Regions from separate parts of the Homo sapiens genome. Here all the other regions are linked to region 1. The links are contacts of gene promoters, found by promoter capture Hi-C in blood cells and fetal thymus (Javierre and others, 2016). All regions are on one chromosome and are shown on one strand. The core of a region is centred on a gene start or on the middle of the fragment in contact, and the rest is flanking DNA. Distances in the headings are between cores, read along the strand shown. Region 1 holds the start of MICU2 (mitochondrial calcium uptake 2). Region 2 overlaps SACS (sacsin molecular chaperone). Region 3 overlaps SACS (sacsin molecular chaperone). Region 4 overlaps TNFRSF19 (TNF receptor superfamily member 19). Region 5 has its middle 92 kb from the start of SACS-AS1. Region 6 has its middle 8.1 kb from the start of LINC00327. Region 7 overlaps SACS (sacsin molecular chaperone).

Evidence for each region. The method cuts DNA at HindIII sites, captures the fragments that hold promoters and counts their contacts. A CHiCAGO score of 5 or more calls a contact.
Region 2: a contact is called between a fragment that was not itself captured here and the fragment with the promoter of MICU2 in region 1, in 3 of 17 cell types (total B cells, endothelial precursors and M2 macrophages). The highest score is 7.9, in total B cells.
Region 3: a fragment that was not itself captured here is called in contact with the fragment with the promoter of MICU2 in region 1 in 2 of 17 cell types (M0 macrophages and endothelial precursors); the score reaches 9.2 in M0 macrophages.
Region 4: a fragment that was not itself captured here is called in contact with the fragment with the promoter of MICU2 in region 1 in 1 of 17 cell types (fetal thymus); the score reaches 5.1 in fetal thymus.
Region 5: a fragment that was not itself captured here is called in contact with the fragment with the promoter of MICU2 in region 1 in 1 of 17 cell types (endothelial precursors); the score reaches 7.5 in endothelial precursors.
Region 6: a contact is called between a fragment that was not itself captured here and the fragment with the promoter of MICU2 in region 1, in 1 of 17 cell types (M0 macrophages). The highest score is 5.3, in M0 macrophages.
Region 7: a fragment that was not itself captured here is called in contact with the fragment with the promoter of MICU2 in region 1 in 1 of 17 cell types (endothelial precursors); the score reaches 8.5 in endothelial precursors.

What each region holds. Positions count from the first base shown.
Region 1 is chr13:21,602,261-21,605,669 of GRCh38, reverse strand. It overlaps MICU2 (mitochondrial calcium uptake 2), which reads left to right and starts at 1,500. Exons shown (of 12, transcript NM_152726.3): 1 at 1,500-1,731. The coding sequence starts at 1,522. RefSeq lists enhancers at 1,317-1,386, 1,168-1,786, 1,787-2,406 and a silencer at 1,557-1,766. The HindIII fragment of the contact is 1,411 bases long and covers 760-2,170 here.
Region 2 is chr13:23,383,129-23,386,722 of GRCh38, reverse strand. The region is part of intron 2 of SACS (sacsin molecular chaperone); the gene reads left to right. Among named protein-coding and RNA genes, the nearest start is that of SACS-AS1, 34 kb to the left of the region's middle. RefSeq lists enhancers at 2,304-2,533, 2,554-2,613. The HindIII fragment of the contact is 4,314 bases long and covers 1-3,594 here.
Region 3 is chr13:23,363,906-23,367,360 of GRCh38, reverse strand. It overlaps SACS (sacsin molecular chaperone), which reads left to right. Exons shown (of 10, transcript NM_014363.6): 6 at 2,084-2,195. Among named protein-coding and RNA genes, the nearest start is that of SACS-AS1, 53 kb to the left of the region's middle. The HindIII fragment of the contact is 169 bases long and covers 1,542-1,710 here.
Region 4 is chr13:23,577,407-23,580,718 of GRCh38, reverse strand. All of the region lies in intron 1 of TNFRSF19 (TNF receptor superfamily member 19), which reads right to left. Among named protein-coding and RNA genes, the nearest start is that of TNFRSF19, 8.7 kb to the right of the region's middle. RefSeq lists silencers at 739-798, 999-1,478. The HindIII fragment of the contact is 3,323 bases long and covers 1-3,310 here.
Region 5 is chr13:23,325,215-23,328,766 of GRCh38, reverse strand. No RefSeq gene overlaps it. Among named protein-coding and RNA genes, the nearest start is that of SACS-AS1, 92 kb to the left of the region's middle. The HindIII fragment of the contact is 1,536 bases long and covers 814-2,349 here.
Region 6 is chr13:23,459,540-23,463,188 of GRCh38, reverse strand. No RefSeq gene overlaps it. Among named protein-coding and RNA genes, the nearest start is that of LINC00327, 8.1 kb to the left of the region's middle. RefSeq lists enhancers at 1,816-1,985, 2,515-2,564. The HindIII fragment of the contact is 5,614 bases long and covers 1-3,649 here.
Region 7 is chr13:23,345,546-23,348,947 of GRCh38, reverse strand. The region is part of intron 9 of SACS (sacsin molecular chaperone); the gene reads left to right. Among named protein-coding and RNA genes, the nearest start is that of SACS-AS1, 72 kb to the left of the region's middle. The HindIII fragment of the contact is 3,032 bases long and covers 274-3,305 here.

The DNA.
Region 1 (3,409 bases), core at 251-2,750:
GGTTGACAAAGTCAGGCTAGATACAAAAAAGCAGGAAAATCTCAGGTTAAGATGGGCTAGTGATCTGGAATCATGGACATTCAGTCAAGCTCATTTGTGTTCACAGGGCAGAAGTAAACCAAACCTTGACCACAGTAAACGCACATCTGTCATGAGCCTACCATGTGCCAGGCATTTGGCTAGTCACTTTATATAAAATATCTCATTTAGCTTCCCCACCCCAAACTGTAAGAGGGTTGTTCACAGATGAAAAAATTGAGACTCAAAGAGATTAAATACCTTACCCCAAATAGCAGTGATCATCTACCAAATCGTGAGTTATTTACAAATGAGAAAATGGAGACTCAGAGAGATTAAATAATTTGCCCCAAACCACAGTGATCATCCTGGTAGAGCTAAGATTCAAACCTTGAGGTCTGGCTCACAAGTCGGTGAAGTGAGGCTCATCTCTCTACTTCCTACCTGGGAAGGCACACTGAAAAGTAAGTCCAGAAGCTGACGGAAAAGTGAGGAACCTCTGACTGCAGATTAATTTAGACAAGCGGGCTAAGAGAAAGGGAGCAAGGATTAAGGGCAGATAATAACAAAGGGATCCACGGAACTTCCACTGAATGATCAAATTAGATTTCGTGTGACAGGTTTTTGTTTTTGTTTCTTGAAGTTTTGTTTTGTGCAAAACTTCAAGACAGCAGTGATTATGTGATTAGGAGTCTTGGCCCCTTTGATGTTGGCTCCGTTACTGCATGCCCAACTAAAGCTTCTAATAGCTGGGGACATTTCAGAGGCTGAACAAAGAGTTTATTAAAAAGAGTTACTCAGGAAAAGTGAAGACCAAAGAATGGAGGATTGGAGGCTGTTAAATAAAACCAAGTAGTCTGCCTCAGCTACATCACTTATCACCAATGCAACAGCCAGGACTGGAGGTATCGTTCTAAATCTGCACTGGGGAAAACCTCTGGGTCCCTGATGATAGAGACATGGGGCTGGTGTGCTGCTGTCTCTGACTTTTAGTTCTAGGTAGGATAAGAGCTACTATCAAACCTTTTGTTGAAACTGAATTTAAATTCATTATAAGCAAATAGTGAGGGACTGAAATAAACAGAATGCCTTGTCTGAGAGTTGTTTTAGCAGAAATGAAAGAACAGTCAAGACTATAAGCATAGGAAGACATGAACAACACAGATGCAGAAGAGACTATTTCAAAAAACGTTTCACAGTTTTACAAGGTGAAAAAATGAAAAGGAGAAACCTGCCCACACAACCGAGGGCACTATCTTGTTTTGGACTAGGAAGTCATATTATACTGTCTTGATACTCTTCCTGTCATCCCATCCCCACAGCCTTAGAAGGCAGCCCCGGAACCGAAGGCCACCTCTTGCGGCTGCGAGCGTCGCCTCAGCAACCGCACCCACGGCGCAGGCCCGGTAGGCGGGGCGGAAGCCTGTCGGATGTCGCGAGAGTTCCCAAGCGGTAGGCGGCGGCGCCGGGAGAGAAGCGCCGCCTAGCTGCGCTTCCGCAAAGATGGCGGCGGCTGCGGGTAGCTGCGCGCGGGTGGCGGCCTGGGGCGGAAAACTGCGACGGGGGCTCGCTGTCAGCCGACAGGCTGTGCGGAGTCCCGGCCCCTTGGCAGCGGCAGTGGCCGGCGCGGCCCTGGCAGGAGCAGGAGCGGCCTGGCACCACAGCCGCGTCAGTGTTGCGGCGCGGGATGGCAGTTTTACAGTCTCCGCACAGGTACAGGACTAACTCCTTCTGCTAGCCCCAGTCAAGCTCCTCCCTCCCCTGACGCCCTTAGGCGGGGAGTGGTTTGGCTCTGGGCGGCTCTCCCGGAGCCGTGGGTGGAGGTGCCGCTGCGGATCGGAGCGCCCTGCGACTGGTGGGACTCGCTCCTTCCTGGACCGGCCCCCGGCCTGAGTCCCCGAGGGCCTTCGAGGCTGGTGACCGGAGATTCTGCCTCCCTTGGGAGAACCCCGCGGACGCTGAACACCACGGCCCACAAAACTGGCCGCACTAATTTAGTGGTGATGAGTGTGGGCGTGTCTTAATTCGAGGCTCCTAATTCAGAATCTCACTGCGCCTCGCCTCTTGCTACCTCTCTGGTCAGTGAAGTGGCATTCACATCCGCAGGTGGTTTGCGTCCAGTTACCCCTGTGGGATATACCTTTGTTAAGCTTTGCAACTAAGTTTTACGATCTTTTCTTTGTATAGCATGATGAAGTTCTGTCGATTGCTTTTTTAAGTCACGAATGTGTCAGCCACAAAAATTAACCAGTTGATTTCCAGATTTTATTATCAACTTTAAGGAACATTATTGCATGATTATAAACCTTAATATCTTAGTGGACCATAAGTTCTAAGCAAAAATTGCTCCTAAAACCTCCATCTATTAAAGACAAGAGTCCGCCGGGCGCGGTGGCACACGCCTTTAATCCCAGGGCTTTGGGAGGCCGAGGCGGGTGGATCTCCTGAGGTCAGGAGTTCGAGACCAGCCTGGCCAACATGGTGAAGCCGCTCCCCACCCCAGCCCCGCCCCCCCGGTCTCTACTAAAAAATATAAACAATTAGCTGGGTGTGGTGGCGGGAGGCTGAAGTAGGAGAACCGCTTGAATCCGGGAGGCGGAGGTTGCAGTGAGCCAAGATCGAGCCATTGCACTCCAGCCTGAGCTACAAGAGCGAAACTCCGTCTCAAAAAAAAAAAAAAAAGATTCAAGTTCCCTATTTCAGGATAAATGATGTTGTAACGCATTTGAAAATTTGAATGAGTAGTGCTTTAAAATTTTTGTAGACTTAGTAAGTTTTTACATATGAGCTTTTTTGAAAATTGAAAGTAGTAGTTTATTATTTTCTTTTTTAGATTTACATTATGCCTTTCTAGCGAAAAACTCAAGGAACATTCAGATACAACAAAAAAGAGAGGAAAGAAGGCCTTGTGAGTTAAAATTAAGTATTGGCAACTGATATTCCTTATTTGTATTAACATACATTATAATTATATTGTAAACATATATAATGGAAAGATCTATTATCTAGTGTTTTTATAGCATTTTTGTGAATCTTGTGCCAAGGAGTTCAGTGTATTCATCATTAGTTTCTCTCCCCTAGATTCATCCTGGTTTTTTTGTTTGTTTTTTGTTTTTGTTTTTGTTTTTTTTGAGAGGAGTCTCGCTCTGTCGCCCAGGCCGGACTGCAGTGGCGCTATCTCGGCTTACTGCAAGCTCCGCCTCCCGGGTTCACGCCATTCTCCTGCCTCAGCCTCCCGAGTAGCTGGGACTACAGGCGCCCGCCATCGCGCCCGGCTAATTTTTTGTGTTTTTAGTAGAGACGGGGTTTCACCGTATTAGCCAGGATGGTCTCGATCTCCTGACCTCGTGATCCGCCCGCCTTGGCCTCCCTAAGTGCTGGAATTACAGGC
Region 2 (3,594 bases), core at 906-3,405, 1.8 Mb before region 1:
GTGAGGAAGGCAGGTTGAAAGCCAAGACAGGAAAGCCAGGCCTCTTGTGACAAACAGTCAAGTTGTGAATGCAAAGGAAGTGTTTTTGAAGGAAATTAAATAGTGCTATTCCAGTGAATACAGAAACTATAAGAAAGCAAAACAGCCTTATTACTGATTAGGAATCAATTTGAGTGGTCTGGATAGAAGATCAAACCAGCCATAACATCCCCTTAAGCCAAAGCCTAACCCAAACAAAGGTCTAACTCTCTCCAAATCTGTGAAAGCTGAGAAAGGTGAGGAAGCTGCAGAAGAATTTGAAGCTACCAGAGGTTGGTTCATGAGGTTTAAGGAATAAAGCCATCTTTATAACATAAAAGTGCAAGGTGAAGCAGCATGTGCTGATGGGGAAACTTCAGCAAGTTCTCCAGAAGATGTAGCTAACATAACTGATGAAGGTGACTACACTAAGCAACAGATTTTCAATGTAGATGAAACAGTCTTCTGGTGGAAGAAGATGCCATCTAGGACTTTCATAGCTATAGAGGAAAAATAAATGCCTAGCTTCAAAGGACAAGTTGACTCTTGTTAGGGGCTAATGCAGCTGGTGACTAAGTTGAAGCCAAGTTCATTTACCATTCCAAGGATCCTAGGGCGCTTAAGCATTATGCTATATCTACTCTGCATGTGCTCTATAAATGGAACAACAAAGCCTGGCCGACAGCACATCCATTTACAGCATGGTTTACGGAATATTTTAAGCCCACTGTTGAGACCAACTGTTCAGAAAGAAAGATTCCTTTCAAAATATTACTGCTTATTGACATTGCACCTGGTCGCCCAAGAGCTCTGATGGAGAAGTACAAGGCGATGAATATCGTTTCCTGCCTGCTAACACAGCATCCATTCTGCAGCCCACAGATCAAGGAATAATTTTGACTTTCAAGTCTTATTATTTAAGAAATACATTTTATGAGGCTATAGCTGCCATAGATAGTGATTCCTCTGACGGATCTGGGCAAAATGAATTGAAAAGTTCCTGGAAAGGATTCACCATTCTAGATTCCATTAAGAACATCCATGATTGGCCAGGTGCTGTGGCTCATGCCTGTAGTCCTAGCACTTTGGGTGGCCGAGGCGGGTGGATCAGCTGAAGTCAGGAATTCGAGACCAGCCTAACCAACATGATGAAACCTCATCACTACTAAAAATACAAAATTACCGGGCATGGTGGCACATGCTTGTAATCCCAGCTACTTGGGAGGCTGAGGCAGGAGAATCGCTTGAACCCAGGAAGCGGAAGTTGCAGTGAGCCAGGATCACACCCTTGCACTCCAGCCTGGGCAACAAGAGCAAAACTCTATCTCAAAAAAAAAAAAAAAAGAACATCCATGATTCATGGGAGAAGGTCAAAATATCAACATTAACAGGAGTTTGGAAGAAGTTGATTCCAACCCTTGTGGATGACTTTGAGGAGTTCAAGATTTCATTGGAGGAAGTAACTACAGAAGTGATGGAAACAGCAAGAACTAGAATTAGCAGTGGAGCCTGATGATGTGACTGAGTTGGGGCAATCTCATGATAAAACTTTTTTTTTTTTTTGAGACAGAGTCTCCCTCTGTCGCCCAGGCTGTATTTGTATTTTTAGTAGAGATGGCGTTTCACCGTGTTAGCCAGGATGTTCTCGATCTCCTGACCTCGTGATCTGCCTACCTCGGCCTCCCAAAGTCCTGGGATTACAGGCGTGAGCCACCATGCCCGGCCAGGAATGTACATTTTTAAAGACATAATGCTATTTCACACTTAATAGACTATAGTATAGTGTATAAACATAACTTTTATCTGCACCGGGAAAACAAAATATTATGTGACTTATTTTATTGTGATATTCATTATATTGCACTGGTTTGGAACCAAATCTTCAATATCTCTGAGGTATTCCTGTGCCAAAAAAATGAAATTTTGGCCCAAAAAATGAAAAAGTTTTAGATCCTGCATGAATGCCAATGATTCCTTCATTCTCTGGTCCTCCACAGTCTGAATCCCAACTCCCCTTGGGCCCTGTTTTTTTCACCATTACATCTCCCAAACTAATATAAAGTGAATGGGTGCATCTCTTCCTTAGGCTTTGAAAAATTGTTTTGGAGTTTGCTGTGAAAGGATAAATCAACTCACAACTTTCTCTAATAACTAGTTTATTAATATCTGTCCAATAAGAGAATTATTAAAGAAATGAACACAAAACAGAAAAGTTAAGAAGGACTTCCTTTTCTTCCCCTAATTTAAATTTGTACAGAGATGGTAAGTGGTTATAGTGAGTGGTCATGACAAGCCACACATGTGAACATCACTACATTCGCTTATTTGGCAGTGAATGATGTGGAACACAGAGTGACATACAAGAGGCCATGATCAAGAGGGACTTTCCATAGTTGATGAGTAAATGCATTTCATTCCTGTGCAGTCACTGATGAGTGGAAGTTAAATGCTGAAGATGTCTACGAAGGCGGAAGTCACCTTGCACGGGCTTGGCTAGAGAAAGCCTTCTGCTCTTCTGCCTGAGCACTGATTGATGGGTGGAAAATCAGTAATGTTATTTGAGTCTTCCCATCTCTGATGTCTTTTATTGCTACCTCCTGAAATGTGAAGGAGTGTTTCTAATACCCCATTCATGCACTTAACCACTTAAGTATGAGATCAGTATTCTTCCATTACATGATTTAAGGCTGAAGTTCTAGCTTTTTAACCAACCCTCCCCAGAAAGACCTTGCGATGACCCTTCTTACTGATCTCCATCCTGATTTGTGCACACATTTGCTGGGTTCTGTGCCAGGCACTGGGGTTGGGGAGAGGGTGATGGTGTGAACAAGGGATATGGAGGCATGTTTTCTGCTCTTGAATGTCTCCAGAGGGGGACTTAGCAAGTAAATATGTGGTTTGTGTAATATGGAAAGAGCTGGGATGGGTGGATATACAAAGTATTCAGAGAGAGTAAGAAAGGAGACATAAGCGTCGTTTGTCCTGGACTTATTGCCGTTTTTCCTTAAACAGTGTTGGGGGGAGAGAGACAATTTTGAAGTGACATTTGAATGGGGCTATCAAGGGTGGGCCATCAAAATTGAACATGGAGGGAGGAGCCAGATGCTGCAGGAGGAAACAGAATGGGCTGAGAAAGGTGCAAAAAAAGCAGTACAAAGGCATGAACAGGCCTGCAGAGCTCTGGGGCTGTTCAGGAAGGAGGGATGGAGACAAGGCTGGGAAACATTTGGACATTACGATGCAGGTAACTTGAACTACTAAAAATATCTTGATGCTGGGGAGGGATTTAGTCACACTCGATTATACAATAACTTGATGGTAATATGAAGGGTTGATTGGAGGAGAAAGGATGTGGGGCAGTGAGAACAGCTGGGGCCCTGAGTGGTGGCCTGAGTAAGGGACAGGAGAGAGCTGTGCCAATACCAACAGGAGGTGGCAATGAAGCCAAACGATATTTATCGTGGTCAAACACTTCGACATGGTGGCTGATTGGATGTGTCAGTGGAGGGTTTTCTGAGAATGACCACCGTTTATTACTTGCAATATTAATTTTGTAGCTATAATATTTTCAGATTA
Region 3 (3,455 bases), core at 377-2,876, 1.8 Mb before region 1:
TTAATTTAAGAGAGTCATGCTCAGGTAGGCACTCACTGAGGACTGTTGTGTCTTTAGTGATCATGGTGAGACTGGGCTGTTGGAGCAGTCCATCTTTCAGCATAGGCACCAGTGGTTCACAGAAAGCGAATTCAAAAACAGTTTTTGTATTGACTTATTAGGAAAGTGAGGATGGAAAGAGTATTGCTACGAGGTGGTTTTGGGGTAGAAAGAAGTGAATAGAATACATTTAAAATAAAGGTATAGTGGTAACAGGAGTAGGTTGTCATCTGTTTAGAAGTGAGCGAGTGGGATCCTTGCTGAGAAATGAGAAAGGTCTATGGCAAACAGCTGAGGGCTACGCGCCTTCTGCTTTGCTTATAGATATATTTGTATTGTAGCCAGTTCAATGTAATCTTTGTTCCTTGGATGTTGTGGTAGAATTAGACTGTTTTAGATTTAATAGGAGTCTTAGAAATCACCAAGACCTACACCACCACCTTCTATGGTATTTGTGTTTGCTGAAACAGGTCCAGAGATCTTAGTGGCTTGCCCAAGACCAAATACAAAATGTATTGTTGCTGTTTCCCAGAGTTAGTTTACAAACAATCTCTCAGGATTGCAATTTAGGGGAAAAGCTTCCTATCCTATTTTTTATTCAACTTGAGAATGAGTGGAACCTGGGACTTAGATTTTATCTTTAGTTTTCTGCCTCTCTGCTCCCTAAAGTACACATAAATAATAAATAGATACCTGAATGAAAACAAGGTCGAACATCTAAAGTGCTATCATTTTGTAAGTTAACATTGTTTTTCACTACCTATTTAATTCTTATTTCCATCCTTCATATTATTATAATATCCTAATGTAAATAAGATTGTTAATTTTTAGGGATTCTCTGGGATTGAATGAGGCCTAAAAAATTAAAATCCCATGAGAAATAGTTAGTTACGTAACAAGGAAGAATCACTAGCTGATAATGAGGCTGCAGGAGGCACGACTTAGCTGTTCATGTTTGGGGTGGAACAGCTGGTGGGTACCACACTCCAGCCCTTTGGGATGCACTGGGTGAACTGAGCACAATCTCAGAACTGACTTTTCACTTCTGCTCCCTCAGTCTCCTTGTAGTTATTTTGTTTCATGTAGTCATCGTACCACCTCTCTACTCTGATGTAGGCATCACTGTTGACATTGTTGTAGTATCAGTTAAAGTGCTCTTCAATTTTTGCCCATCTGTACCTCCAATTTAGTGATCCCAAGGCTCTGGGGAAGTAAAAAAGCTCTTTTGATGATCATGGGGTTGGATCTAGGAGCTGATTCTTGATTCAGATTCTGGAGCTCCCTTCAAACTGAACGGAGCCCAGCGTGATTTTAGTAGGTGTGCAGAAGTGATTGGGGTTGTTAGGATTGGAAATTTTGTTGAGGCAAATCTTGCAGTTTGCCCTTTCCTTTCTACATTACGGGGAGCTGGTCACCCTTCCACTCACCCACCATTCACCAAACAAATGGTAGTGCTTTCTTCTTGATGAAAGGAATGAGTCAGTCCTGACCATCTGGAAGCTTTCAGTTTAGTGCAGGACAAAGACATTTTTATATCTCAGGCTCTCAAGAAAGCAGCCAATTGAAGGGTATATATAGATTGCTACTATTTGGTTTTATTGTTTTTCTGTGGAAAGGTAAGTTTAGTAAGCAAAGGATAAAAAAGGTCTATTTTTGGCAATCACTCAAGCTTAAGTTACCTGCCACACAGGACGATATGTGCAGCTTTTGGAAATAGAATAATTTCCTTTGAACAAAAGCTTTGGGTAGATTGTAAATATGAGACAGTTATAAATAGGGCCCAGGATTAATTTGCTAAGTGATAGCAAATTAAAAGACAAAATTTAAGTGCAAATAATTGGAGAAGGACTTTTCAACCATACTGTCACATCTATGTAACAATTACTTTCAGTAGTAGCCTCACCAGATCTTAAAGGTAATGTTGCAAATAGTGGGTTTCCTTTATTTAAGTATATTAACTTCTTAAATATTATAGATAAATACAAAGATGAGCAGTAGATTACTGTGTTATTAATTACTATTTTTTGGTATATTTTTTGGTTAGGAATTAATTCAGAATGCAGAAGATGCTGGGGCGACAGAAGTTAAATTTTTATATGATGAAACTCAATACGGAACAGAGACTCTTTGGTCAAAAGATATGGCGCCATATCAGGGTAAGAATCAATAATTAGGAACAAATTTTATTGTATGCACTAACAGGCAGTTTTTAATGATTAATAATGCTTTGTTTAATGAACAGTCTATCATTTGTACTTTTTGGCATGTTTATGTCCACTTCTTCAGATGTTTTTCTCTGCTTTTGGTGGGAAGGTGTCTCCACCAGTTGGTATTTTTAGAGAACAAAGAATAAAATCTGAAAACTCAAAATGACAAGCAATGTAATGACCAAAGCCTCTTATTCTATTCAAACAACTTGTATTTTATATTATCAGTAGGATAAAGGGACACCATTTATGTATAGTAACACTTTCCTGCATTTGGAAAGATGTTGTGAAAGGCCATGCTTTTGTGTATTTTCCGCTTTAGGAGTACCCTCGACATTGTTTGGAAGTTGGGTGGGAAGAAAGATTGAAGGAGAGGAGAGAACAAGGAAAATGAAAGGAAACATGATAAGAAAGCCATAAACTAATAAATTATTAATCCAATAAGAACCCTAACCAATAGACTCCTAATATCTCACTTCTACTCCGGGGAGCTTTGGTGTCAAAAAGAATGTTCATAAATTGTAGTATACCTCTGGCTGGGTGCGGTGGCTCACGCCTGTAATCCTAGCACTTTGGGAGGCTGAGGTGGGCAGATCACCTGAGGTCAGGAGTTTGGGACCAGCCTGGCGAACGTGGCAAAACCCCGTCTCTACTAAAAATATAAAAATTAGCTGGGCGTGGTGGCAGACGCCTGTAATCCCAGCTACTCAGGAGGCTGAGGCCGGAGAATCGCTTGAACTCGGGAGGCGGAGGTTGTAGTGAGCCGAGATCACATCACTTCAATTTAGTATACCTCTGAAGTCATTGTCAATGACTGTATGTGACAGAAAGTTACTGAGAAAAAGTGGGATCAAGTCAGACCTTCTGAGACACCTTTTTAAAGAGATTTAAGTCATGTATTTTTAAAAAGATGTTTTATGATTTAGGAGGCCAGTTAACATTTAGTTAAATATCTAGCATTTGTTATGTCTCATATAGTCATTCTTAGCTCACATTTGTCACTTGAAAGTTGTACTTTCTATACTCTATAAAAAGAGGTGTGTGGGACATAACATCAGGAGGTGTGCGTTCTAGTCCTGACTGCTGCTACCTTAGTGACTTGGGCCAGTCATCACAGAGGTCAGATCATTTTTATAATAAGAGGATTAGCCTGCAAGGTATCTTGTCTCTAAGAGCCTGTGACTTAATGTAACATTGGATTCAAGAGAC
Region 4 (3,312 bases), core at 400-2,899, 2.0 Mb before region 1:
CTCACATCTCTGTGAATGTCAAAAATTGTCTTCCACACTAGGACTCAATTCTCACCCCTCCAGTTCTATACCTTTCAATTAGATAATAAGCACTGCCTGGAATTTTTAAGACTACATGAAAGCAGTGTTGGCAAAAACGCCTAAGGTGAAACTGCACCACAGAAAAGGTACTGAGTAAATCCTGAAGTAACGCAATGTAATCCTCCCTTTTGCATCTAATATCTGATCATGAAATGACAACACTAAGAAATATCGTTTGCATGAGGTATGTTTAACAATAACTGTTTCCTGTTTACATAAAGAAATTGTTTGGTTTTGTAGTCAAAGAAACTGTCATGGGGTAAAAACTACGTCTTCATACATATCTTGGGTTAAACTGTTTCAGTTAAAAGAAACACTGAACAATGGTGATGATTTTGTATGCATATTGAGTCCTTTATTAACATGCAAACAAATGACATGGGTTTCTTACAATAGTGAACGGAGACTGGATGACTAGTGCACTACCATCAAAACAGATCACAGAATTTTGATCCGCCAAACTTGATCTCCAGGAGTATATTAGCCAAATTTCTGTCCCATGAGATGGCATTACACGCATTGTAAGAGCTGGCTTTCTCACTCTCTAAATCTATCACAGGCTCTACTCATCAATATACTAATAATTCCTGCTGAACTCTAAGGAACTCTTTCCCACAGAAGGAATATACCCTGGGCCGCTCACAGACAACGCTCTCCCGCCGCTGGCGCTGGTCCGGGATGCGGCCCCGAGACCCCTGCAGCCGCGCGCTGGCTCAGGGGACCTCCGCAGGACGCGGGCGGGCGCCGGGGCCGGGTCGGGCTTGGGCAGAGTGACAGGCTCCCAGTCGTGAGCCTCACAAGCAGATCTATTTACAATATCCCGGATAGGAGTCCAGGTCGCGTCGCTCGCGTCGCCCGCGGGGACCCGGCGTGAATTCACACGCTCCCCTCCCACCGCCTCGCCGCCTGTCACGGCCCCGAGACCCGGTCAGCCCCTTCGGGGGTTCCCTTCGCCGCGCAGTACTCCGCCCGTGAGCAGCCCCCGCCTGCGCTCCTCCCTCCCTAGGGCGGCCGCCTCCACTCCCGGCTCCCACCCAGCGGGGATCCACCAGGGCGAGGGCTGAAGACCTCGCGGGACGCCGCGCGCCGGGGACAGCGACGCACCTACCTTCCCAGCCACCTGGGAGGCTGCAGGTCCGGGCCGGAGCCCGAGGCTCAGGGGCGCGCGGAGCAGTCCTGGTTAAGGCGCAGGGCGCGGGGTTGCATGGGGGTCCAGTCCAGCGTGCACACCGTGCACCTCCCAGCGCAGGGCTCCGCGCTCTCCCGTAGCCCGGCAACGGCCGCCACCCCAGAGCCCCGCCCACTAGGAGCCCCGCTCAGGGCACCGCCCACCCGGGCCCCGCCCTCACCGCGGCTCTCGCCGTGGCTCCGCCCCCGTCCAGAGCCCCGCCCCCAGCGCACACTGCGTCAGCCGGACTTGCTCTGCAGCTGGGTTCTTTGGAGGCCCCCACTCCGCGGCTACTGAAGCGGATGAGTGTGAGGCTGACTGGGGGCTTGGGGATGGGGGACCGGAGACCACCAAGAACATGGCTGTGTTGGGAAACTTTCCTTCAGAGCAGAGAGGGAGGGTTCCTTTCCGCCGGGGTGTTCCCCACCTTTCAGCCTTTCCCGCGTGGGCCCGCATCCCAGCCAGAGGGGATACGGCGGCCAGGTCTGCGCTGCTGCGCCTGAGCTCAGGTCGGCAGAGGTCGCAGACCTCGGCTCCTCAGCCGGCAGGGACTCGCAGGTGCGCGTTCCCACGGACGCCTCCCGGGGAAGCCCGAGTTCGCCTCCTGCAGGCCGGGAAGCACTCGCCCCGAGACGGCCGCACCCTCGCAGCGGAAGGGCGTCTGCACCACAGCTGTAGCACCAGCGCGTGCGAGGCGGGGCCAGGGCCGGGGACTCACTGGGCAGTTTTGCTGAAAGGGTTAAGAGAATCGCGTCTGTAAAATACTTTTCCACCAGTAGAATGCTGTAAAAGTGCAAGCAGTATTGTTCTATTCGTTCACCCAAGATACGGTGCATGACTTTGGTACCAAGGCATCCACCGTTTCTCACGTGTTGGTTTTGACTTCCCACTCAACTGCACTGTGTGGATGGACCCAAGTCCCTGTTTCTTGTCTATACCCCAAGGCCCACTGGAGCCCCTCCATCAGTATTTGTTGAATGAATGAGTGAATAGGTTGTTGTATTTAATTGCCCAAAAGCACAGCTTGTGATCCCAGGCTTCCAACGGCGTAGCACTATACTAGGTACTTGTGAACAATGTTAAAAATATTATTCCCGATGTCACACCTTGATAGAGGTTGTATATTTCAAATCTAACACATCCAGAATATAGATCCCAATAACGACTTATTGGTAAACGATTTCCAAATGATGTACGTTATCTAATTTGAACCTCAAGGCAAGTGTGTGCTTCCCTGTCCCATCTCCCAGCGGCTACCCGATCAGACTCCAGCCCTCAGTGCACATCACTACCATATTCATTCCCACATCCCGCTGAACTTCTTTATCTGTTTCCTTCCCCAGCTACACCTGGATCTCCCGAGGGCATCTCCTAATTCCTTGATATCCCGGGGCCTAGCACACGATGGATACTCAGCACTTCTAAGCTGAGTTACTGCATCTTCCTTTGCAAGGTCTCACGCAGTCCCCCATCGTCCTCTCTTTGTCTTGGTGCCCACCACCTCCTTCACCACCATGCAGACCCTCCCCACCCCTCACCACAGCACTGCCTCGGTCATCAACCCCGCTTCCCGCCTTTCATCACTGCTACTGTCAGGCTGAAGAGTCACAGGAGGTTCCTCACTGTAAAGAATGGATTCTGCGCTCCTTAGATTAGCATTCCGAGATGTCCAGGTGCAGCCCTACACCTATTTCCAGCCTTGCCTCGCCTCTGGAGCAGGCTTTATAAACTGCGCCGCGTGGCCCTTCCTTTGCTCTCTACTTCCTCTTCGTGCTCTCCCATCTTACCTCTGAGCTTTACCTACTTGTCTTACTCCAGTTTCAGCACCTCGCTCAAAAGCCACGGCTCTCACGAGTTTTCCCTCAATTCTGAGCCTATGTATTTCCTTGCTCCAAGGTTTGTGGCAATTTAGCACTTGCCCATTGTGTCCTGTATCATAAGATTCTGTGTACTAACTTTCTTCTTCAAGGAGTTAAAAACACTTTCAGAGAAGGGGCATATTTTGTTCCGATTTGTATCTCTGACAGTATCAATCATTCAAATAAATGTTCAACCAAAGCTTT
Region 5 (3,552 bases), core at 332-2,831, 1.7 Mb before region 1:
AAGTTTTAATGTGTGTGTATGTGTGTATTTATTGGAAATATTAGGAAAATATTTTCCTGTATATTTTCATGCTGGAATTATAGATTTTTAGGATTAATAGAATATGAAGTGCTTGTTATATACTAGGTTTAGGTGCTCATTGATTTAGTTGAGTTTATGTCACCTTTTTAGGGAATCAGATTAGCTGATATATGTGGTATATATGTGTTTGGAAACAGATACATTAAATATTTTTTTCCTCTAGGTAGAGCTGAATTGATATTTCCATTGCCTCAGGGACAGCTGCATGTCTGGGACTAATTCACACTTTATTACTGACAGATAGGAGTTCTTCATCTTTATAGTTGAGGCACAAGTCTTCAGAGTTAGGCAGATGAGGGCTAAGAGTGCTCTCTGTTCTGGAGCTACCTGAATTCTGTGCCTTCAGCTTTATTTAAAGTACTTGCTACTTCGAAGCTTCAATTCAGCATTTAGATTTTATTGCTTTTGAATATTAAAATTTACACAGAAAACCTCATTTGGCCTTGATAGTTGATCTAGTTGGAGTTTTGTGTTTTTCCAGGCAAAAAAAAACCCCTCATAATTTGATTTTAGAAAGTTAATACAATTATATATAACTTTTTAATGAAGTGCTCCCACCAGGGACAGGCTGTACCTGTAATCAAACGCATTAGTATTTCTGCAGTTAAGGCTATGAGGGTTCACAGTAAATTGAATACACAGACCTGATCAATAGCCTTATGTAATTTGAATCAGCTTTTGCCACCAATAGTTTACAGCAGACTTATTTGAAAATTTTCACTTTTTCAAGCTTTTTAGATACTGAAATTGAGGATAAGGAATTTTGGACCTGAACTATTTTGTTATTTTACGCTTCCTCCACCCTCTTCCATAGTTTGCTTCTTTTAAAAAGAGAAAGGAAGCTGTCTACTGCTGTGTGGATCAGCTGCTCCTGAGTAGCATGCAGTCTAGGAAAGGGATGGAGCAGCTTCTGCACTCGTGAACAGGGTCTTTGCTGCAGAGGCTCCAGGGACAGGGACAGGGCATCCCCAGAGGGATGGCTCGATTGTTCATAGTCTCCGGGAGGAAACAAGTGAAAAACTTGCACCATACAATTCGTTAACGGAGCAGGGAGTGCCGAGAGCCCAAAAATGATTTGGGAAAAATCTTAAAATAGTATTTAACAGAATGAAGAGGAGTTGTTCACAGGTCTGAGTTGTTCACAGGTCTGATTTTGGGATGAGTAGGATTTATTTCTTTCATTGGTGCCAGTTGACATTTTTGGTAGTTTAAATGTTTTGTAGATCTCAAGGATGACATTTATATAGTGCTGGTAGAAAATAGCATATAGAAGCATATTTGAAGTGGAATTTACTATGTGAAGAAGACTGCTAAAGCCAAGTAAGAGGCGATGTTTCAAATCGAAGGGGACACAAAGCTGCATCAGCAGACACAATCTGAAAACCATCGTGCACAAAATTCTGCTCGTTCAGAAGAGCTTCTACCCTCATTCCCTGTTTCCCATAGGAGCACAGACTGAAGTTTTTGGATGACCTAGTGGGGGTTGGCGGGGGGAACCCAACACACATGGCTTGACTCTTCTAATGTGAATTTGACTGCTTTCAGAGAAGGCATCTGTCCATCCTCCTCATGTAGCAGTTATAGAAGTTGGGAGCCTTTAGTTCTGCCTGTGACCAGAGTGGTTTGTGTTTTATTCAGCTGTGAAGTTATTAGGAAGTCCATTTTGCTGCAAACCAGCTATCTTTATCATTATTTTTTATTTTATTTATTTATTTTTTTGAGATGGAGTCTCACTCTGTTGCCCAGGCTGGAGTGCAGTGGCACAATCTCAGCTCATTGCAACCTCCACCTCCTGGGTTCAAGCAAATCTCCTGCCTCAGCCTCCTGAGTAGCTGGGACTACAGGCACCCGCCACCACGCCCAGCTAATTTTTTGTATTTTTAATAGAGATGGGGTTTCACCGTGTTAGCCAGGATGGTCTCGATCTGCTGAGCTCGTGATCTGCCTGCCTCGGCCTGCCAAAGTGCTGGGATTACAGGCGTGAGCCACCGCACCTGGACCACTATCTTTATTATTAAAGCATAATAGTAGTAGATTTTGATCTTCATCTTTTTGACTGTATCTACTTGTCAGTTCATAAACTGGGAAATAAATGAGTGCTATTTTTAGATCCCTAATGTAGCAACACTCAATAGTCTATAGGAGTATCAGTCTATATACCCCGTGATGTACGTTTATAACCATGACTGTATGCCTTCAATGAAAATTTATATGTTTAATAAGACAGATATATGTAATGCATTTTAGAATACAGCTCATCTAAAAGCTTTGATTCTAATGAAGGATAAATTCCTTATTGTGGAGAATGCATTTATCTGTAACAACTTCTTTCAACATTATTCCATATAGCTAAGGATAAAAAAATAGAATTTAAACCTTTTATTCAAAAGGTTCTGTTCTCCACACTTTCTACTTGACTATTTTTATTTACCTCACTTTATCATCTACACACAAATTTTTGGACACATAATATGAGAACCAAGCTAGTTTATAAATGTTTAGTGATCTAGTGATCCCGTGTTTTATCAGCTGGGCTTGAAGACATATTTCGCACAAACAGGGAACAAAATACCAGGAACCATTTACTATGACAATAGGAATGTCACAGTAAGAAAGCAGTTTACTCAGGACTCAACCAAATGGAAAAAGGTAAATATCAATTTATAAGTAAAAGCACCCAACTGCCTGTGAAATGTGAATTACACTGAGTTGAGTTTGCTCTTAACTGCTTGGAAAGCACTGTATTTTTATTTTGCAATTTCAAGTGTTTATGCATTCTGGCCATTTAAACATCAGGGAGTTGTTATGAGCAGGCTATGCTGTTAAATGAACATCTTACTAAGCATTAGGAATAGAGTTCACTTTTGTACTTTCTCTTGATTCTGAGACTATGGAAAATGAATTTGAACTTATATTGATAGTTATTAATATGTCATATCATTAGAAAGTTGCAGTGCTGTTGGTCTCCCTACACCTATTTGAAGATTCTTCTTATAATAAGTAAAACAAAAACAAATGCACCACTTTTTGTGATAGAGGGCATTTTACAAAGTGAGTGGGTGGCCTACACAAAACGAACCTGTCTTCAGAGGTTCAGTGTGTCCTATTTGATTTCTATAGCACCTTACACAGCCAATTGGCACTAAACATGTTCACAAGCTCTGAGTGTCTTGTTTCTATGAAGTTACGTCCAGACTTGTGTCTATCATGTGGAGGCAAGTACCACAGACTAGCCCTTTGATCTTGGTAGAGACAAAACCTCTTTGGGCTTCAGTTTCTTTGTTTGTCAAATAAGTGCTGTACAATTATCACATAGACGGGTGTTTTGGAGACAGCACATGAAACTTTTTCAAAGTGAAAAGAGCTATGTAAATTTAGGGTTACATTTTGGTTTAATTTCAGTAGTTACCATGTGACCTTGTGACTTGTTCTACCTGAGCCTTTGTCACCAGTAACTTGGGGAAAAATAAT
Region 6 (3,649 bases), core at 494-2,993, 1.9 Mb before region 1:
TCAAACCTTCACGGGTATCCTTAGCATCCAGTTAGGCTTTTGAAGTTAAGAGAGGGGAAGGAAAAGTGGAAAGAGAAGAAAAGGTGGAAAGAATAAAGTTTAAAAAAAATGTTAAGATAGCATTTTAAGGTACTTAACTGGAATGTTTAAAAGGGGAGACCAGTAACCTTCTATTTTCAGTTCCTTGTTTTTCTTGTAGCTTTGCCTAGGATGGCTACAGTAATGCTTACATAAATCAAAAAAATGTGCTCTAAAAGAGAAATTTAACTGAACAAAATCTCATTAGTAATGATAATTCAGCAGATTTTTTTTTTGAGAGTTTACTATGGGCTAAGGTTTCTCTAAGTATCAGTTCTTTTCATTCCAACTGCAATTAGATGAGGTGGCATTATTGTAATTTCTGTCTTACAAGTGAGTAAATCGAAGTATAAACATTCCAGGGTCCTACAGCTAATAAGCCTCCTTGGAGTCTCTGGGTCTAAAGCCTGTGATTGTAATCATTACCTATATTGCTATCTGGGCACAACGCAGCTACTAGTATCTGCAGTGGTAGAGATCTGAGGTCCTACATGCTCCAAAGTTGAGTTCATTTCTACATTTAGTGTCAAAATGACGAAGTGGTTTCCAAAATTGGAAAATGAGTTTCCATTCCCTCTTCTAATTAGAATTTTTAAAATGTTTTCTTTGTTTTGTTTTTCAATTTCCAAATTTTGTTTTTCAGAGGAAGTAATGCCTTATCTTTCATTTCACTTAGCTAGCTCAAGGAGAGGACTGAATTCTTTTTTTGGAATACGCAATGACCTGAATATGCAGTGTAAGAGTCAGTAGCAACAAGTGCAAGTCAGTGAAACAATTAGTTTCATAAACACAAAACATGGCCTGGCCAGCAAGGGAGGGCCTGAGTGCAGTCTTTAGCACGTCCACACACCACAGGGCAAGATGTTGGACCAACCCTATTTTTACCTAAGACCGGGAGGAGAGCAAATATCTCCTGAAACTGGCTAATTTTCCAAGCCAGGAGCTTTATACAGTCTAAACGACCATGTGAAGTTAGCATTTTTACCTTCATTTTGTGACAAGCAAAGTGTGGTTCAGAGAGATTAAGGAGACAACCGTAGGTCAGTGCTGGAGCCCAGATGTGAACCCACATTTGTCTGGCTATCTCCAAATCTCATGTTCTTTTTATTTATATCACACTGACTGCTTTTCGGTGAGTGATATCCCACTAAGAATTGAGACTGATTCTCAACTCCCCCAAAGCCATGTGCCAGGCTCTCCTGGAATGTGGTCAGCATTCGATGGGTGGGAATGAGGTGCCCAGGATTGAAGGTGCTGCTGTCAGGGAGGACCCCAGCTGCACTCACAGCTGTGTGACTTGGGTATGTTCCTCAGGCCATGTGTTCACCATTGTGCTCATCATAAAATAGGGATTATATCATCTGACTCATAGAGTGAAGGGGATTAAATGAGATAGTTCATACCACATGCTTAAGACAGGGCGTTGCAAATAGTAAGTGCTCAATAAAAGTCAGCAATTATTAATTTATTATAACTAACTGGTCTGGTTAGACTGCTGATTGAATTATGAATTTGGAAAGCTGTTCCATGAGGGTTACAGAACAGCCCTATCCTATTCAACGGCTTAAAAGGGACTTGAGTATGTGTATGGCATACATACTCTTTACATTTAGGATGATGGTAGCTTGGATGGTAGGGTCAGATACCCAAAGCCTGGGAATCTGGAGTAGTATGCAGCTAGACTGTGTATAGATGCCTTAAAAAATCCACCATCAACTCAGTGGCTTAAACCAGCACTCATTATTGTCAGCTGATCTCAGCTCTAGGCTGGGGCACTTGAGCTGGGGCACCTGTGCTCCATGTGTCTCTCAGCCTCCTCTCAGGGCACAGCGGCCATCCCAGACACAGCCTTCTCATGGTGATGGCGGAAGCATATGCATCCAAGTCCAGTCATGGAAACACTGTTCAGGGGTGTATGATCTCATAACTCTTAACTTTCCATTGGCCAAAGCAAGTCACATGGCCATGGTGAAGGCTGGAGAATGACACCACCCTGCAGAGTGAGGGCTCTGCAAAGCTAAGCAGGACAGAGTGCACGGAAGAACTGGGACCATTCGTGCAGTATAATATAGGCTGGATTCAAGCAGGTGGATACATTTAAGATTTTTTGTTTTTGTTGCTTATGTCCAAATTTTATCCCAAGAAGACAAGCCTAAGCAACAGCAACTGTAGGAAGGAAGTGGTTGACGCTATGTTTCCTAATAGGTAAGGAGACCATGCAATTGTCATCCAAACTAGGACATTCAAGAGTAAAACAAGAGCATCATTAACAATTCAGCCAGGACAACAGGCATATTGGAGACTGTCCTGGGCAAAGTGAGACCTGCGATCACCTAATGTGTAGCTTAACATATTGCTATGGACATCATGTGCTCAGGCTGAATTACTGGGTGTATAACACTAGAGGATGAAGAAGACAGTTGTGCTCTCCTTAGTGCTGGGCTGGCCATACCTAAAGTATTGTCTTTATATTCGAGTTTTCAAACTAACTGCTCTGTTTAGAAGAGAGGTGAGGGTGCTGTGGGGTGTAGAAACTTTGTCAAATGACTCTTGATGCAAGGAACAGAGCATATTTGTGAGAAATAGGAAATGCTTATGGGACACTTGACATCTGTGGTCAACTATATGAAAGTCTGTTGCAGAAAAGAGGAATTAGACATGCTTGGTATTATTGCACAGGATAGACCTTAGACCAATGGTTCTAAAAAAAGAATATTGAAATCTGAATCAGAAAAATTATATCTTATTTCTACTTACCAGCTGTGTGACTGGCTAAGCCATGCAACTTCTCTGAGCCTCAATTTCCTCATTTGGAAAGAAGCAATAATGTAAATAAATAACTCAGTCTTGCTGTGAGGATTAAATGAGATTGTGTTCGTATTATCCAGGGTTCTCCAGAGAAACAGAACTGATAGGATATATGTGTGTGTGTGTGTGTGTGTGTGTGTGTGTGTGTGTGTGTGTGTGTCTATACATATATGTAAAAGAGGGGATTTGGCTCATATAATTATGGAGGCCAAAAAGGCCCATTATCTGTCATGTGCAAGCTGGTGAACCAGGAAAAATGTGGTGTGAATCAGTCTGTGCCTGATAGCCTGAGAGCTGGGGGAGCCAATGATGTAACGCTCTGTCTGAAGGTGAAGGCCTGGGAATGGGGCGGGGGTGGGGGCTCTGCTAGTGTATGTCCCAGGGTCCAAAGGCTCAAGAGCCAGGAGCTCTGATGTCCAAGGGCAGGAGAAGATGGATGTCCCAGTTCAAGGATGGAGAGGGGAAATTGAGAGAGAGAGAGAAAGAGAGAGAGAAGGGGAGGGTGGGAGAAAGAAAGAAAGAAAGGGAGGAAGAGGGAGGGAGGGAGAGAGAGGGAGGAGAGAGAGAGAGAGAGAGAGAGAGAAAGATTCTCACTTCTTACTTCTTTGGCCTTTCTGTTGTATCTGAGCTCTCAACAGATTGGATGATACCTTGGTGACAGCAGATATTCTTTACCCAGTTTACTGATTCAAATACTAATCTTTTCCAGAAACACCCTCACAGACACACACGCACACAGAAATAATATTAGACTGGGCATTCT
Region 7 (3,402 bases), core at 540-3,039, 1.7 Mb before region 1:
ATTATACAAGCACTTGTAGGTTGATGAACTTGAATCCTCCCTATATTTCATGAGAGCAGAGAGACCTGTCAGATTTGTTACCACCATCTAGCACAGTGCCTACTTCAGTGTAGGTGCTCAGTATTTTTTTTCCTGCATGAAAATTTTCTCATAGCTGCCCTTTTGTACATGGTGTTCCTTTTGCTTAGAATACTTTCTTTCCATCCTCTACTTTGCCCAGCTAATGTTTATTCATCATTCAGTACTGAGCTCATGTGTCACCTCCAGGAAGCTTTCTTTGACATCTTGCCCTGTGCCTCACCCCTGCCCTGCAGTCTGAGGTGAATGCCTCTCTTTTGCTCTTGGAACCCAGTACATAGTCCATATGATCCTCTTTGCTTTATTAGAATCATGTTTTTACTGTGCTACACTGCAACATCCTTGAGAGCAAGGGCAATCTTTATTTTTATATTTCCAAGGTCTGGCCGAGAGCCTGCTTGCCAAGTTTGACTGGATAAGTTGATGCTTCAGCTGCTGGGCTGGGTGGGGACCGCATGGAGGAGATGGGGCGCAGAGGCCAAAAGGCAAATCTCTTTCTTAGTGTCTGTGAGTTAATAGTTCTCTTCAAATCAGTGTCTTCTGTAATCTTGTTTATTCTTTACAACCATGAGATAATAGAGCCTGTATCTCCATTTGAGAGATTGAGACATTGAAGCTCAAAGAAATTGAGGGATTTAAATGACTTGCTTGAGTTGCAGAGTTGAAGCTATGATTTTTGTTTTTTTAATTTCCAGGTCTGAATTATTTCTGTATTAAGTTGCTTAAGTAAATGGATGGATATCAGAAATTGGAGAATAGTTAGAAGAGCAGGTAAATGGATTTTGGATGAAGAAAAAGGAAACAAGAACAGTTTAGTGGTACAGATGCTTGGTGTCGGGTCTTATTTATAATTTTTAAAATTTTCATACTTATTTATTAGATGAGACCAAAATCCGTAACCTTTCCTATGAGGCACTTCATTAGCTGGCTCCATTTTCTGGGTGTTATGAAGATGCCTGGTACATGGAAGGTTCTATTGATATTTGCTATTTTTAATCTCCTTCCCTTAGTTCCATGCTTTTTCCTGTTTGGAGGACAGCATGTTCTGTCCCTCCCTCAGGTGTGATACATGTGGCTTCCTTGCCAACTCCTCCATTCACTACCTCTGCTCATCTTTCATGCAACCCATGTGTGCTTCCATGCTCTGTTCTCCATGGCACTCACACACTGGTACCTGTTTAAGTATTTGTAATAATTTATCTGATACTTGCCTTCTCCATTAGACTGTAGGGCCAGGTCTGGGACCATGTCTAGTTGTCCATTTCTATATCTCTAGCACTCAATCAGTATTGCCTAACTAACAAGGTGCCTGTTGCTAAAGTGATTAGAATGATGTTAAGATGAGAAGAATTGAGTTTCTTTGGTTACACCTTTGCTCTCTATCTTAGCTACTAGTTTAGTTAGCCTAAGGGACCCAAATACACAGAAATCTCACAGAACTGTAGCAGTCCAGTTGATTAAAAGTTTCTTGCTTCATTCAAGCAGAGGAGGGATAGATGTTCGTGGAACAATTCTTAGAAGTTTGTAATTATTGTTGGTTACCATGGACAAGCAGTGGAAATAGATGATAAAATCTCTTTTTCTTTATTATAAAGTTGGAATTAATTGTACACTTTGTGTAGGTACTCCAAAACTTTTTAAAAATTAAAAATTTAAAAAATCAGGTTTTTTAATCTAGAATCTCTGAACATGATAGCCTGTGCAAAAAGCTCACTGGTAGCTTATCAAATGACGTTATGCAGCTATAATGTAATTTGCGCATATGAAGTCCATAATTCTTTCTTTGCTTTCTTTCTGAACCAACACTCCTGACTCTTACGTACTTCGATTTAGTTTGCACTGAAATATAGCTTTAAATCTTAGATGTGTATTCTGCTATGTTTGGAGTTTTGTTTCTGGGTTTTCTTTTACATAAGGATCTGTAAAGATTCTACAGACAGCAGTATCTTAAGATACAGAATAATTTCTGTAGCCATCATGTGAAAACTGACAATTCTGACCTCTTCTAAGAATGGATTTAATTGTATTCTAGCACAACAACAACTCTGGGGATATTCAGGTAGGATAACTGAATGTTGTGTTCATTTGAAGCCTGATGTTTTTGTTCATTTGGCTCTTCGAATTCTGTTTTTGCATTTACCTAAGTAGCTAGAAATTATGTCAACAATTTTTTTTCTGGTGGTAATAACTATAATATTAAAGGAGAGAGGAAACCATACTAATACAGATTTTTATTATTACAAATACCACGGTAAAACCATATTCAAATGACTTGGAAACATTCACTTCATAGAACATTTAGTCTCTAATCAAAGAATGGTGTGGGAATCTGTATTTTAAGCTGTGGTATTTAATGGGAAGTTTGATAGTGAATGCACCTCTATTATACGACGCACACAAATATTCCGATTAAAAAGCATAGAGGGGGCCAGGCTCGGTGGCTCACGCCTGTAATCCCAGCATTTTGGGAGGCAGAGGCAGGTGGGTCACGAGGTCAGGAGTTCAAGACCAGCTTGGCCAAGATGGTAAAACCTCGTCTCTACTAAAAATACAAAAAATTAGCCAGGCGTGGTGGCAGGCACCTTTAATCCCAGCTACTTGGGAGGCTGAGGCAGAAAACTGCTTGAACCCGGGCGGCAGAGGTTGCAGTGAACTGAGACCGCGCCACTGAGCTCCAGCCTGGGCGACAGAGCGGGACTCTGTCTCAAAACACACAAAAACAAAAACAAACAAAAAGAACAGAGAGGGAAGTAGATTCTGGGATCTGTGACTGTGAAGTTAGGCGACCACAGCCTTTCTGTTTTGGAGTCTGGCTCAGTGTGCTACGGTTGGTGACGGCAGGGACCCCCGTCCTGGGTGTGCAGAGGAAGGGAAGGTGGCCAGCCTAGCTCTCATTGGGGAGAGTCAGCCGATTGTTCTTACAGTGCCTCGTGTGTCATTTTACTGACTGCCTTTTTTTTTAATAAATAAAAAATTTTTGACTCAACTAGTGGTCCTATTTTCCCCAAGTTCATGTTCCATTTGGAAACTTATAGGATATAAGATTTGCTTTATAGAAATCATTTTTATGATAAATGTTATTATTTGAAGCAGGTGATACACTAAAATTAGTTTAGAAACCAAGTCATTATTATAGTGATAATTCATATAAAAATTTTTGGGTTTCTAGCTTATATTAAAAGTGGTTTATCATTCACGGTTCTTACTATTATATTTTTCTTAAAGCTTTGTCAATGTATCTTACATGTTTTAAGGTGGTATCAAATCAAAGAGGAAAACAAAATCTTGATATAAGTAGAGTGCATAATTAACACATGCCCTGGT